2 separate regions of the Homo sapiens genome follow, and region 2 is linked to region 1. The links are contacts of gene promoters, found by promoter capture Hi-C in human tissues and cell types (Jung and others, 2019). All regions are on one chromosome and are shown on one strand. Each heading gives the region's core, a stretch centred on a gene start or on the middle of the fragment in contact. The rest is flanking DNA. Distances are from core to core; before and after follow the strand shown.

Region 1 (7,794 bases), core at 726-3,225:
GTGATCTGCCTGCCTTGGCCTCCCAAAGTGCTGGGATTACAGGCATGAGCCACTGCGCCCAGCCTAATATTTAATATTTTTCTTATTTACAAAACTGATAAATGTTGACTGCTGGAAATTTTGGAAAACACAAAAAGCCTTCCTTTTCTTTAATTTCCACATAAGTTTATGACCGCTGTTAAATTTCACTGTTTTCTTCTAATGAAAAAGTTTCAATGTTGATGCCCACAATTAAAACATCAAAGTTTTCAACAATTTTCTTAATAAAAATTTTAGAGTGGCCTAGTTGTCACTGCTAAGATGTTGTTAGCTAGCAGAAAAGACCGCTCTTTCACTTTTCTAAGTGTATCACTAATTTTCTGAGTGGTAATAGAAAAATATATACTTCTATGAATGCATTCTTTCAACTAAATCAACCAATATTACAATGAAACATGAAGGGGTGGGAGAATTGAGAGAGGCAAATTTGATTGGCTTACCTCTGAAATTGTTGGTCCACCTTTCATCTTCATCAAAATGAGCATCCCCTCCAATACCTGGGCCTGGTTGAAAAGCATGAGCAAGATTTCCTCCAGGTCCATCAAAAGGAGAGTTGTCCCGATGATCTGAAAGAAACAATTCAACAAAGATTCCTTGTGGTTCTTATGTAAGCTAAGCCAGAAGGGCAAGCATTAGCTTTGTTAAGAGGCCAACAGACTTCCATCAACTGTGATGCAGTTTCCCTCTTCGAGCCCATAAAATCAACATTCATCTTAAACAATCAATTCCAGTTGCAAAGCTACGAGATCTAGGGGCAAGGTGAGGTTAAGGTGCTATAAGAAGAACTTACCTCCCCTGACAAAAGATATCATGATGTCTGCTTGACCCTCAGAGACCTTGGTGAATGTCAGAGGTGTGACATTACTCCAGAGTTGGAAGGCTTTCTCAATGGCATGGTCCACATCTGCTCTTGGCAAATCTGGCGTGTAATTTTCAATCCTTAGAATGAAACAAAATAGAGACACATTGGACATGACTTCTTACCACTGTCATGGGAAATAGCTCTCTCACTCTGGCCCTCAGTCTGCCTACCTGTAGGTCAGATGTGTTTGCTCCCAGCGAGGGTTCCCCTCAGTGAGGACAAACTGAGCCACATCAGGCACTCCACATCTGGGCTGCTTCATCACCTTCAGGGTTTCAGCATCTGGTTTCCCAGTCACTTTCAGCCCAAAGAATTCCTGCATTTGCTTCAATTTTTCAACCACTGGGCCACTATTTCTCCGCTTTTCAACTTGCCTCCCATCATTCTTCAGGTTGTAGTATTTTTCCAGGTATTTCTGACAAAAGAAAATTATCGAAACACTGCATGGGAAATCTTTCTCATTATTCTAAAAATTGATGGCATTAAGTTTTAGCCAAAACAGAGAACTGCTTTTAAACCTTGTGTTTAGATTTCGCAGTTGCTTTTATCCTTATTTTTGGTGAGAAATGAAATTTCAGAGTAGAAATGTCCCTACTATTAGTTATTGTGAAGTAAGAACTTCATAGTAGAGCAATTTTTGTAGAGCAAGATTTGCATACTGTTACAAGTCTACAATTTGTGGAGACAAGTTTGGATGTTGTTCCTTTAGTTCACTCTCACCTCCAACTGGAAAAAGAGAGCGTATGCATGGCTAGATACATTTTGGGTGGAGGGTGCTGTTTCTAGCAAAAAAAAAAAAAATCTCTTTATAAGAAACCTATCCTTAAAAAACTCTATTACATTACTGCAGAAAAATACAAACTAAAAATTTACATTATTGTCACATGCAATGCAGCATTTACCTGGACTAAGTCCACATCTTGCTCTTGTGTTTCTAGAGTCGCTGGGAAGCTGTGAGACACCACACCCCAGAACAGCAGCAGCAGCAGTGGAGGAAAGCTGTGCATACTGGCCTTTGTCTTCTTTCTCAGTGCAAGGTAAGTGATGGCTTCCCAGCCTCTTGCTGCTCCAATATCCCAGCTAGGAAGCTCCCTCTGTATATATAGAGTCCTTGCCCTTCCAGAAAGCCAGAGGCTGTCTGACTCATGCTTTATAACATCCTCTTGATTAGCTATGAATAGACTAGGCAATCATTAGAAATGGTGACTCCTAGCAGATTATTTGGAATCACTTGGTGTTGCAATGTCATGATTAACTTCAAACAAGATGTGTGCGAAGGAGACACACTCTGCCATGTAAACAGTGGTTTTCTCCAATTCATTTCTTTCCTATTTGAGAAAGGTTCTTGTTATATACACAGGTCAAAGAGTACTCCATGGTCTTTTTGAAAAAGACTGGTTCTGATGGTCATAAAGTGCTACAGGTTTCTCCACACACCTTGCTCCCAGGGCAGAGGGTGGAATTACTAACACTGCGCACCTGATGGCTGTTCGGCACCTGTACTGACTGAAGTTCAGCTCCCCCAGCACTCACTTTACGGTGGCTCTTCGGGGTTCTCTGAGGTTCCCTTCTGCCTTTGTTAAGCTGCCTGGTACCCTATTGCGATAGCACCATGGCTTCCCTTAATCTTTACTCAGAGCCAGGCATGGTGGCTCAAGCCTATAATCCCAGAATTTCAGGAGGCCGAGGCAGGGGAATCACTTGAGCCCAGGAGTTCAAGATCAGCCTGGGCAACATGGTGAGACCCCATCTCTGTAAAAAACAAACAAACAAACAAACATTTTTTAAAGTTAGCCAAGCATGGAGTCATGCACCTGTAGTCCTAGTCACTGAAGAGGCTGAGGTGGGAGGATCACTTGGGCCTGGGAGGTTGAGGCTGCATTGAGCTGTGATTGTGCCGCTGCACTCCAGCCTAGGCAACAGAGAGGGACCCTGTCTAAAATAAAATTTGAAAAAATTTACTCAGGCCTAGGATTTAAGAGCCTTACCTGAGAAGACCCCTCATCCACAGGCGGAGTATGAGATAACTCCCCACCCCTTGCCCATCATTATCATGGGACAAATAGGATCCTTCCCTGAAACTTGTCTGAATGTACCGGATGATGAAAAGGCTGGAAAGAGACTGAGCGTGACTCTGGGGTCTTATTTTTAATCATACTTGTTTCCCTTGATATGAGTCTATCTTCGCTCCTTGGTGCTAGGCAGCATTTATTTATTCTTTCATGTATGCATTCATTCATATATTTATGCATTCCTCCATTCAAAAGATCTTATTTAGCATCTCCTGCCCATTAAAATAAATACATGGCTCTGTAATGAAAGATGTGTATTCCTGTACTTATGTTCCACATTAAATTGTCTTGGGTACTGGTGACCGGTGTCACCAGTGCTATCTGTAGCATTCCTGGTAAGAAAAGTTGGTTTATCTCTGTAGCTCCCCTACTCATGCCCCACTCTCCTTCCTTGGAAGCATTTATTGAAAACATACAGTGGAGAAACACTGGCCTGTTTTATCACTTCAGCACCTTATGGTGTCTCCCACCTTTCCCACTGTATCAGGTTTGCTTTTCAACACTTTCCTCCCCTTATGGATTCCTGTTTTCTTTCTGCGTCAAGACTGATATCTTACTCATAAACAATACTTCAGTATATCTTGGATTGATTTGAGATAAGTCATATCCTTTCTAATTATTTAACTACAATTTCCTCATCTAAGTGGCATAACATGTGAGTTCAAGAGGGTAAGAAGAATGGGAAGACATTCTCACGAAAAGGAAATCCTCTTCTCAGAGGCATCAGAGGGAGGGTGCGGCAGAGACCAAAGAACACTTGCCACTGAAGTGACTCCAGCACAGACAAAGAAAATAGTGAAAGGGGCTCTTCATATTAGAGGGTGAACATAGACTATGTTTTAAAAGTCAAGGAGTGGCAGATATACTCGACTGTGAGGGAATCTAGTCACTGTGAAGACGTGACAAGCCTAGCTCCACTGAGGCCTGGGAAACAAGGGTGAGTTAATAGGTTAACTCAGGAAAGCAGCATGTGACCATCTGTGATTGGACAGGAAATTGCCTAAGACGTCACCCTGGAAGAGTCTCATACACTGTCCCATCTGGCAAGAGCCTGCACATCCTGCAATGTAGAAGTTTTCAAACTTTTATAAACCTCTGTATCCTTTACTTAAACAAAATCCCTTTTGGAAAGCAAATTTGAAAACCAGGTGAAAACAGAAGTTCTCTGATGGAAGTTGGAAATAGAGCCTTGGAGTCCCCCACAACCCGCCACATCATGCCTGCTTTTTCCTCCCTTCTCTAGCAAAGCTCCCTGCATCTGAGTCCAGAGCTCTCATGCTAAATGCTCATAGTGTTTCATTAAATGTCATAGTTGCTGACGTGGATTGGAAACTGGTTGCTTGAAACATCTTTTCGTTAATTTTTTTTCCTAAAATAAACGAAAAAAATTAAATTAAGTTTTGGTTAAGCAGCCAGCCTAGATTCACATGGCCCTGAATCTTGGAATTTCCAGTTAGGTATTCATGGAAGATCGTCTAATACAACATATGTAACTTTGCAGCTGGTGCTAGCATATGATTTATTTGAGAGTAAAAAAGAAAACAAAAATTTAGAACAGAAAGCTGGGGATTAAATCATACCAAATCCTAGCAATGCCTAAACTTAGCATAGTTTCCAAGAAGTTCAGAACATGTTAAAGTTGTATTTGCTCTTCACATCCATACTATTTGTTTCCTCTGGGAGCATCTTCTTCCCCCATAATTCTCTTTTAAATGTAATTTTCTGAAATTATTCCTTTACCCCTTATGACAAGCATAAGAGGGCTCTCGTGTGGCTGTGTCAGCTGACTCCGGACTATTTCCAGGCAGCCAGATTATTTCCGTGGTTTTCTTGGTTGCTTCATGCTGGCTGCTCTGTGAAAGGCCTCAAACATATTTGTATTTTTCCATATTAAACTTAGTCTTGAAATTTCAATCTTGCTTCATATTTTTTTATGCTGGGGAATTCAGCCGTTTTAATTTTGTAACTCCATTTGAGTGTCAGATATTTTTTCTATTTTTTTGTCCTGCAAGTCTTGAAATGGTCTTTAGCCAGAAACATTAAGTATTTAATGCTATTTTGTTGTGAGAGTTACACGTGGGAAAAATTTGCCCCACGGTCTGTATTCTTCCTACATATGGCCATGCAGTAGCTTTATGGATAACCATTGACCAGACACTTAACAGACACTTGGTACACACTGGTTCCGTCAGTCCTCATGGTTACCTTCTGGGTAGAAATGATTGATCAATTAACCCCAAGTCCCAGGGCACACAGCAGAGCGGTAGTCACTCGTTGAACACAGTTCTGTGCCACTGCAGTCCAGACATAACACATACATACTCTGGGGATAGAAATCTTGCTTCCCTAACAGAGAGAAAGTGTCTGGAGACACGAGGACTGTCACATTAACTCCCTCAAGTCCACAATAATGTCTCCATGCCACCACCCGGTCCCACAGGCCTGAAAGAATCCTCCCCTTCAAGCTGTCACTCAATCTCTCTTATTTCCCTTATCAAACTTGTTGAATTTATAGTTTATACTACCTCAACATAGTAGGTGTCTGCAAATGATTGTTACATGAGTTAATAAATGAATAGATCAATGAAGAAATAGATACTTAAATGACACTTAAATAAAGGGTCTATTTCTCATTAGGCTGAGTTGTTTATAAGAAGTCTTATGCCCATGACTTTTACTCTCCTAAGACTAAAGTTTTTAAAATTACCATGGGAAGAATTTGGATATATCAACTGACTGGACATTCAATTAACTAATTTATTTATTTAGAGACAAGGTCTCCCTCTGTCGCTTAGGCTGGAGTGTAGGGACCTCAAACTCTTGGGCTTAAGCAATCTTCCTGCCTCAGACTCCCAAGTAGCTAGAACTACAGATGTGCACCACCATGTCCCACTGATTTTTAAGATTTTTTGTAGAGATGAGGTCTCACTATGTTGGCCAGGCTAGTCTCAAACTCCTGGCCTCAAGCAGTTCTCTCACCTCGGCCTCCCAGAGTGTTGGGATTATAGGTGTGAGCCACCACACTCAGCCTTACTGGAGATTTTATATGAAGCATAGCACATTTATTTTTGGTGATTTGCATGCCATGCTACAAGCATTTAGTATCAGATTATTTTGAGCATTTTATTAATTTGTTTGTCAATAATATTTTCTTATCTGCATGGTTTATTAAACACTGTGGAAAATGCTTATAGTTAGCACATTTGTGAAACAGATTTTTGCAGCTATAGCTCCTTTTAAAGGAAATTCAAACCAAGAGACTTTCTGGGGATGAGTGCTACTCATACCATAGCTCAGTTCAGCCCTGTCAAAACCGTCCTTTCCCAGCTCTTACATCTGTGAATGTGAATTTGAGATGGATTTGAAATATGTGAGGAAGCTTCCTGTGAGATTTTGATCATGTGCCCAGACTATGACTTGCTTGTTTGGAGTCTGTGACATACACACGTGTGTGGCCTGCAGAGCTTTTAGTCCATGATTCAGAATTCAAACTATATTCCATTGTTTCAGAATTTTTCTGTTTTTCACAAAGTGAAATGTTCTCTAAGCCTGCTACCCAGTTCTTTTTAATTACTCTTAACTACTTATGCCTCAGCCATAATTCTTTCTTTATTTTTTTATTATTATACTTTTTGAGGCAGAGTCTTGCTCTGTTGCCCAGGCTGGAATGCAGTGGCATAACCATGGCTCATTGCAGCCTCCGCCTCCTGGGCTCAAGTGATCCTCCCACATCAGCCTCTCAAGTAGCTGGGACTACAGCTCTCGTACGGCAACTGGGGAACTACAGGTGTATGCCACCACACCCAGCTAATTGTTATTATTATTATTTTTGTAGAGACAGGGTCTTGCTATGCTGTTCCGGCTGGTCTCAAACTCCTAGCCTCAAGTGATCCTCCCTCATCAGCCTCCTAAAGTTATAATCATTTATGATGACCATTGGGCTGGTCAGCTGGTTTTCCTTGAACCAGTCAATTCTTTTTCTTTTTTTTTTTCTATTGAGACAGAGTGTCACTCTGTCACCCAGGCTAGAGTGCAGTGGCATGATCTTGGCTCATTGCAACCTCCACTTCCCGGGCTCAAGCAATTCTCCTGCCTCAGCTTCTCAAGTGGCTGGGATTACAGGCATGTGCCACCATGCCTGGCTAAGAATCAGTCAATTCTTATGAATTCTCACTGAAAGAAATAACATTTAACCTTTACTGGGCTCTCTATACCTTTAACATACAAAACTATTTTATCCTCACAATAATCCTGTGGAATAGTTAGGGTGGATACTATTATTTCCATTTCATAGGTGAAGAAACTGGGACAACTTTCCATGACTAAATCTTTTGTCCAAGACAGTTCCTCTAGCAAGTAGTAGAGACAGAAACTTGAAAAAGGTCTTTGGCTGCTAAACCAGGTAATTCAGCTCTTAAGACAAAAGATTAATCCCTGCAGACATCTTTTTATACTTGTCACTGAGATGCATTTTTAGTTCTAATAGAAAATTATTGATGAAACCACCAATAAGACTGCACAGTCCCTTTTTGCTTAAACTGACATCTTCTCCCGTGAATTATACCCTTCTCTCTCAAGGGTGTTTCTTGCCCTTGGCACAGATTCTTTCCCTCATCCTGTGAACATGGCTGCTCTGTGAAATACATGAAGGAGCACAACCCTAACAATTGTTGCAACCCATAACTCCTTGAGCATCACTTTTCTCTTTGTCATCAGCCTTATTACTTAACTTGGATCTTGACCTTGACCTCACCCCCTTGTAGTACATTTTCAAACATTACTATTAACATCCACCATTTTAAAAAAGTCAAATGGCTTTTC
Region 2 (7,794 bases), core at 2,886-5,385, 46 kb before region 1:
GTACATTTTAACCTCATCTCTCCACTTTTTAACTTTTTGTTGTTTATATTTATATCTTATTATACTATGTCTTGAAAAGTTGTTGTAGTTATTATTTTTCAAAGGTTCATCTTTTAGTCTTTCTATGCCTTGCATAGAAAGTTTACATACTACAGTTATAGTATTATAATATTCTGTGTTTTTTTTGTTTACTTACTATTACCCCTGAATTGTGTACCTTTGGATTATTTCTTATTGCTCATTAACATCCTTCTTTTTAAGATTGAAGAAATCCATTTAGCATTTATTATAGGACAGGTTTGGTGCTTATGTAATCCCACAGCTTTTGTTTGTCTGGGAAAGTCTTTATTTCTCCATGTTTGAAGGGTATTTTCCCTAGATATACTATTCTAGGATAATTTTTTTTCCTTCAGCACTTTAAATATGTCACGCTACTCTCTCCTGGTCTTTAAGATTTCCACTGAGAAGTGTGCTGCCAGACATATTGGAGCTCCTTTGCATGTTGTTTCTTTTTTCTTGTTGCTTTTAGGATCCTGTCTTTATCCTTGTCCTTTCAGATACTGATTACTAAATGCCTTGAGGTAGTCTTATTTGGGTTAAATCTGCTTGGTGTTTTATAACCTTCTTGTACTTGATATCTTTCTCTAGGTTTGGGAAATTCTCTGTTATTATCCATTTGAATAAACTTTCTACTCTAATCTCTCTCTCTCTACCTTCTCTTTACAGTCAATAACTCTTTCATTTACCCTTTTGAGGTTATTTTCTAGATCTTGTACGTATGCTTTTCTCTTTTGTCTCCTCTGACTGTGTATTTTCAAATAGCTTGTCTTCAAACTCACTATTTCTTCAGCTTGATCAATTGTGCTGTTAAGAGACTCTGATGCATTCTTCAGCATGTCAATTGCATTTTTTAGTTTCAGAATGTTTGCTTGATTCCACGTAATTATTTCAATGTCTTTGTTAAATTTATTTGATAGGATTCTGAATTCCTTCTCCATGTTATCCTGGATTTTGATGAGCTTCCTCAAAAGAGCAATTTTAAATTCTTTGTCTGAAAGGTCACATATCTCTGTCTCTCCAGGATTGGTCTGTGGTGCCTTATTTAGTTTGTTTGGTGAAGTAGTGTTTTTCTGGGTGATCCTGATGCTTACAGATGTTCATCAGTGTCTGGGCATTGAAGAGTTAGGTATTTATCATAGTCTTTTTAGTCTGGACTTGTTTGTACCTGTCCTTTTTGGGAAGGCTTTCCAGGTATTCCAAGCAACTTGGTTGTTATGATCTAAGTCTTTGGTCACAGCAGCCATATGTGCTTTAGGGGGCACCCCAAGCCCAGTAAACCTGTGGCTCTTGTAGACCCACAGATGTACCAGCTTGGTAGTCTTAGGTAAGATCTAGAGGAATTCCCTGGATGACCAGGCAGAGACTCTTCTTCTCTTTCCTGACTTCCCCCCCACCCCCCTACCCACCAAATTGAGTCTCTCTCTCTCTCTCTCTCTCTCTTCCTCCATAAGAGCTGACTGAATTCTGCCTGGTGTTGCAACACTAATGACAGGGCAACACTAAGTTCCAATGCAAAGTCTCACAATCACTGTACACTCCCTCTTCCCCTAGTGCAGATTCTCTCTTCATGCCATATGATCACTGCAGGGGGATAGGAGAGGGCTGGTGTAGGTCATTCAAGACTGTCTTTCCTACCCTTTTCAGTGCCTCTTTCCTTAATATGATGTTAAAACCAGGTAGTGTGATTGCTCACCCGATTTTGGGTTCTTATGGAGTTGCTTTTTTGTGTGAATAGTTGTTCAATTTTGTGTTCTTGCGGGGGTGTGAGGACAACTATTGGAAGCTTCTATTCAACTATCTTGCTCTGCTTCCCCTGAAGACTATTTGTAATAGCCCCAAATTGGAAACTACTTATATGTCCTTCAACATAGACTGGAGAGATAAATTGTGGGAAATTATTCACTCAATGGAAACTCTACAGCAAAGAGAATAAATGATCAAAAATTACATAAAAATATATTGATGAATCTCATAAATATAATGTTGAGTGACAGAAGTCAGATACTAAGGTATATAATGTATAATTCCATTTATTTTAAGTACTGAAAGAGATAAAGCTAATCTATGGTATTAGATTAGAAGTTAGGATAGTAGTTACCCTTAGAAAGCTTAGTACCTGGAGAAGGGATTTGGGGATACTGGCAATTTTCTTTTGTGTGCTGGTTACTTGGTTGTGTTGTGAAGAGTCATCAGCTATATACTTATGATACATGGCTTTTCTGTATTCATATTATATGTTGATAAAAGTTACCTTTTTAAAATATATATACTAAATCTCACTCTACTGCCCAGGCTGGAGTGCAGTGGCGCGATCTTGGTTCACTACAACCTTCACCTCCTGGGTTCAAGTGATTCTTGTGACTCAGCCTCCCAAGTAGCTGGGATTACAGGTGCCTGCCACCACACCCGGCTAATTTGTGTATTTTTTGTTAGTAGAGATGGGGTTTCATCATTTTGGCCAGGCTGGTCTTGAACTCCTGACCTCAAGTGATCTATCTGCCTCAGCTTCCCAAAGTGCTGGGATTACAGGCGTGAGGCACTGTGCCCAGCCACTTTATTTTTTATACGAAGTTTAAGTGTCTGTTTTCTTTAATATGTGACAGTGTTGCCATGTACATGTAAGGATGATACAGTTTTACGCTGTTTTTTCTTTGTTGAAACTGAGGGCTGTTATTGTCTTGGGTGGATTGAGATATGCATCCCATATGTGCAGCTGCTCAGGTTAAAGTCAGAGTCTTGGACTCTAGTAAAAAGCTTTTTTCTGTGAAAACCTAAGGATGACCTTGATTGACAACCCTTAGTACTTGCTTAAAACTAACTTATATAAGTTCATGAAGCAATATATTCTAGCTAACATAGAATATGTTCAGATTGAAGTTAAATAAGATTGTATTTCTATGTCTCTGCCTTGTGTTACCAAGAGACTGAAATAAAATACTGAAATACCTGGTTTCTTAGAAAAGAACATATTTTGGGCTCATTAAAAATACTTTTTATTTTCTGTTTGGTGATAGTCAACCATCAGTTATTTCTGCACTTGAACCAGATGTTAGCTTTCAGGAGAGTCAAAATTTGCTTCATTTTAGGATTACATTCATACTGCCTTCTTCTACAAAAGAAATAGAAAAAACCTAGAAATAAAAGAAACTAGATAATGATTTTTCACATGAACTCTTGAAAATATCATATTTTTGTGTACACAGTTTACTGTCTTATCTATGTAACACTAAATGTGTAATTTTATGATAGTGAAATGAGGAAATTGAATGGTCTTTACCTTTATTTTTCAAAACAGGTCAATTTTTTTTACTAATTCCGGGGAGGTCATCAATGATTTTGGGATAACCTGCATCCACGGACTGCATATTTTCATCATACCTGGTAACAAAAAATAACTAAAAATATCACATTGTGGTTAATATAAAAACAATAAAAAACACTTAACTTTCATGTAGAACTTTCCATGTACTAATCACTGTCCTAAGTGCTTTTCATATGAAGATTCATTTAATTCTCACAACAAATCTGAGAGGTAGGTACTGTCTGTGCCTCAATTTTGCAAAACCCCGATGGCTGCTTTTAAAAATTATGGGTGGGTACATTGTTGGCATGAAACTATTAAGAAATTTTAACTGGGAGGGAGAGTGGGGCAAACTAGACAAACTCTAAGTTATTCTCAACCATAAAAATCTGATTCAAATTTTCCCTTGGGCTCCATGTTCTGTCCTATCAAGGAGAAATGCTTCATTTTCTCCTTTTTGGATGCCTCTAGTCCCCTTTGTGTGTTCTGCTCTTTATCTCCTTTTCAAATGCAAGCCAACAAGTTCCTTGCCTTGCTAGGCAGCAGTGTGATAACAGGTAGGGGACTGAATGGCTGTGGGCCTGGCTGCATTCATTCTCAGAAAAAAGGAAAGTTTCAGTGAAATTTGAGAAAAATTTTAAAAGGCAACTCTCCTTCCACCAGAGTGATCTGATTTCCCAAGTTTTCTGAGGGTAGGTCTTTACCTCCAATACTCATTGGCAACAAAGAAATGTGTCTTTCCAGTGTCCTTCTCATAAATGGCAGCATCAATTTTCTTCACCCTTTCAGGGAAGACAAAGGAGCTGTAGACGTCCCTGGGGTAGCCACTCAGCAGTTGATCCTCCTGAACGACCCAGTGCTTACTGCCTGTCAACAAAAAATCGGCCATGAAAAGATTTGCCTGGAGTCTAGTAGATATTAGACAGAATTTCCTCCAGACATTTGCTTCACGAGAAGTGGATGGAGAGTTTTATTCCAATGTAAGGTGCACTCGAGAAGACCTTTCTTCTTAGTATAATTGGGTTACTTCTCAAGCTACACAGGTGTGTGTGTGTGTGGTGGGCACCCTGCAGGACTACAAGGGTGGGAGGCAGATGGACACCTTCTGCAGAAGACATATCTGAGCTTTCGACCAGGCTGACTCCAGACAAAGGATTCTGTATTTGTTCATTTGGTTACTCCAGAATGTCAGTTCATCTTACATCATGAAGCCAGAGTATCTCTGCACAAATAGAAGTTACCACCTCATAGAAAGGCAGTTTGAAACTTCATATTTTTAAAAATCCTCCTTATTGGCAAGATATACACCTTATGCTAGTATGCTTCAAGATTCTTTGCTTATTTAAACCAGTTTTTAATTTTTTTTTAAATTTTCTTGAGACAGAGTCTCACTCTGTCCCCTAGGCTGGAGTGCAGTGGTGCGATCTTGGCTCACTGCAACGTCTGCCTCCTGGTTCAAGTGATTTTCGTGCCTCAGCCTCCCAAGTTGAGTAGCTGGGACCACAGTCACACGCCACCATGCCCAGCTAATTTTGTATTTTTAGTAGAGACAGGGTTTCACCATGTTGGCCAGGCTGGGCTTGAACTCCTGGCCTAAAAGTGATCCACCCACCTCAGCCTCTCAAATAAACTCCTTTAAGTTACTTATTTTGCACTGTGATAGGGTCTAGTGTCCTTACATTTTATGCATGCAAAATCCAAAAACCTGAATATTTTCAAAGCACTGAATAGTTGACAAATGTACATAATGATATGATATTAAACATTCTAGTAAAAATTTTAGAGTAATGTATTTTTGTCAGTAAAATTACACAGCTTGAAGAAATATTATTCTCTTACATTTTTATGAAATGAGACAAAATAGTTACCTTTTTAAAGTAATTTATAGTGTCAACAGTTTATATTTATTAAAGTATTTATACTAATAAAGTCAAAATTGGTTCATTTTACTGAAAGCATTCTTTCAGATAAAACAAAAAAAATTCTATAAGCTATGGGAAGGAAAAATAAAAGAGGCAGTGAAGGAATTAGCTGACTCACTTCTGAAATCCTTGGTCCTTGTTTCATCATTATCAAAATGAACATCTCCTCCGATACCTGGTCCAGGTGGGAATGCATGAGCAAGACAACCATCATGTCCATAAAAGGGAGAATTGTCATGGAGATCTGCAAGAAAAAGAATTCAACAAAGATATACCCTTGTTTTATTCAGCCTTACCCAGGTGAGACAAAAGAGCTATAGCAAGGAGCCAAAAGACACACTTCATCTGTGAGGCTTTCCTCCATCAGCAATTCTGATGGAGCAGATCCCAGGGTAGCAGGAGGGAACGTTCAGAATGGTTTTGGGAGAGAAGAGCTTACCTCCTCACACAAAGGATAATATTATGTCCCCTTCACTCTCAAAGTCCCTGGTGAAGGTCAGGGCCGAGGCCTTACTCCAGAGTTCAAAGGCTTTCCCAGTGGCACGGTCCACATCCTCTTGAGGCAGATTTGGCATGTAGTTTTGATCCTTAAAATGATAAAGGAGAGAACAGAGACACAGAGAACCTCATTTCTTCCCACTGTGGTGGGAAACAGCTGTCTCTCACTCTGGTGCGCAGTCTTATTACCTGTGGGTCAGATTTGTTTGCTCCCAACAAGGGCTCTCTTGAGTGAGGATGAGGGAAGCCACATCAGGCACCCCACATCTGGGCTGCTTCATCAAATTCGATCTGGCTTCCCAGTTACCTTCAGCCCAAAGAAATTCTGCATTTGCTTCAGCTTCTCAAGCACTGGGCTACTGTCTCTCTGCCTTCCAATTTGATTGATTTCACTCTTCAAGTTGTAGTAGCAGTTTTCTAGGTATTTCTTATAAAGAAAAGAATACTAAAATAGTAGAAGTAAAGTCTTTCTCAGTTTTCTGAAAAATTGCAGCATTTCACTATTGTAACAATATAGCCCTTTTCCTTAATAATTGAATGAGAAGAGGGAAAAAATCTGTCTGCTTCTGTAGTGATCTCGTAGCCCTTATTATGTTTAGCAGTGGTGCAGAAATGTTACTGTGGTAGAAGAACCCATGCCATTGTTAAGTCTAGCTTTACTCTTGAGGTCAGAATCACAGTTAGTACAGCCAGTCTATGTGTTGCTTGCTCCTTTGGTTCCCTCTAGCTTTACCTTCTTTTTTCTTTTTTTCTTTTTTTGATACAGTGTCTTGCTCCGTTGCCCAGGCTGGTGTCCAGTGGTGCAATCATAGCTCACTGCAACCTCAAACCCTGGACTCAAGCGATCCACCTCAGCCTTCCAAAGTGCTGTGATTACTGGTATAAGCCACTGCACCCAGTGATATATTTTTTTTTTTTTTTTTAAATGAGGGGACCTGTTCCTGACAAACTACTTGTTTCCTAAATGAATCCCAAACTTGCTTGAATTCCTACCTCTTGACCTTTGAAAAATGGGAACACGCTGCTCTTGCATTACTGGCAGCTGCAATGCAGCATTTACCTGGACTATCTCTGCATCTTGTTCTTGTGTTTCTGGAGTCGCTGGGAAGCTGTGCAACCCCACACCCCAGAGCAGCACCAGCAGCAAAAAAAAAAAAAAAAAAAAAAGCCTGGACATGCTGGCCTTTGTCTTCCTTCTCAGTGCAAGGCAAGTGATGGCTCCCTACCTGACTGCTGTTCCAGTGTCTCAGCCCACAGGCTCCCTCTTTATGTAGGGTCCTGGCACTCCCAGAAAACAACAAAATGCTATTTGATTCACCTAGGGAGACATCCTCTTCATTCGCAATGTGCAGTCTCAATATTCATCAGAAATTGTGACATAATGGAAGTTAACCAGTTGCTTTTGCAAACTCATGATTATCATCAATAAGGCCATCAACAATGAAACACACCCCATCGTACACAGTTAAGCAAAGCTGTAAAGCATGGCTAAGTCAGCCATAAAAATATCTGGGGGAAAAGTGCTCCTGTCCAAGGAAACGACTTGTGCAAAGTGTTGGGGAGTAAACGAGCACACATTCAAGAAATAGCACACCAAGACCAATGTGGCTGGAGCAGAGTGGGCAAAGGGAAGAATAGTAGGGGACAAGGTGAGTGATTGCAAAGACAGAGGCAGATGAGAGGGAGAGCTTGTAGAGCATTGCAGGGATTCTAGTTTTGCTAGGAGTGATATAGAGAGTTATTGTCCTGACGTCCCCTGGTCTCTTGCTTCTTGTTAGGACTACTACCTTCCAGGACTGCCACTTAGGCAGGGTCTTATGGCAACACAAGAGAGAGAAAAAGGGCAAAAGTAAAATGTGCTTCCCAAAGCCCGTCGCCAGTCAAAGGAACCTGGGTCTCCTCCATAAGATGTTATTTCCTGCACTGCACTTGTTGAGTCTGCTAAAACACACAATACACTATAATACTACAATATTTTCTTTGTTAAGATAATCTTGGCTTTTGTTAGTGTGC

What was found. Contacts are between HindIII fragments. The study calls those that stand out against the background at their distance.
Region 2: a fragment that was not itself captured here is called in contact with the fragment with the promoter of MMP1 in region 1 in 1 of the 25 tissues and cell types used here (mesenchymal stem cells).

Annotation. Positions count from the first base shown.
Region 1 is chr11:102,796,185-102,803,978 of GRCh38, forward strand. MMP1 (matrix metallopeptidase 1) reads right to left here and starts at 1,976. Exons shown (of 10, transcript NM_002421.4): 1 at 1,804-1,976; 2 at 1,072-1,316; 3 at 830-978; 4 at 480-605. The coding sequence starts at 1,908. It also overlaps the pseudogene WTAPP1. The HindIII fragment of the contact is 22,607 bases long and covers 1-7,794 here.
Region 2 is chr11:102,747,986-102,755,779 of GRCh38, forward strand. No RefSeq gene overlaps it. Among named protein-coding and RNA genes, the nearest start is that of MMP8, 27 kb to the left of the region's middle. RefSeq lists an enhancer at 4,488-5,687. The HindIII fragment of the contact is 8,712 bases long and covers 1-7,794 here.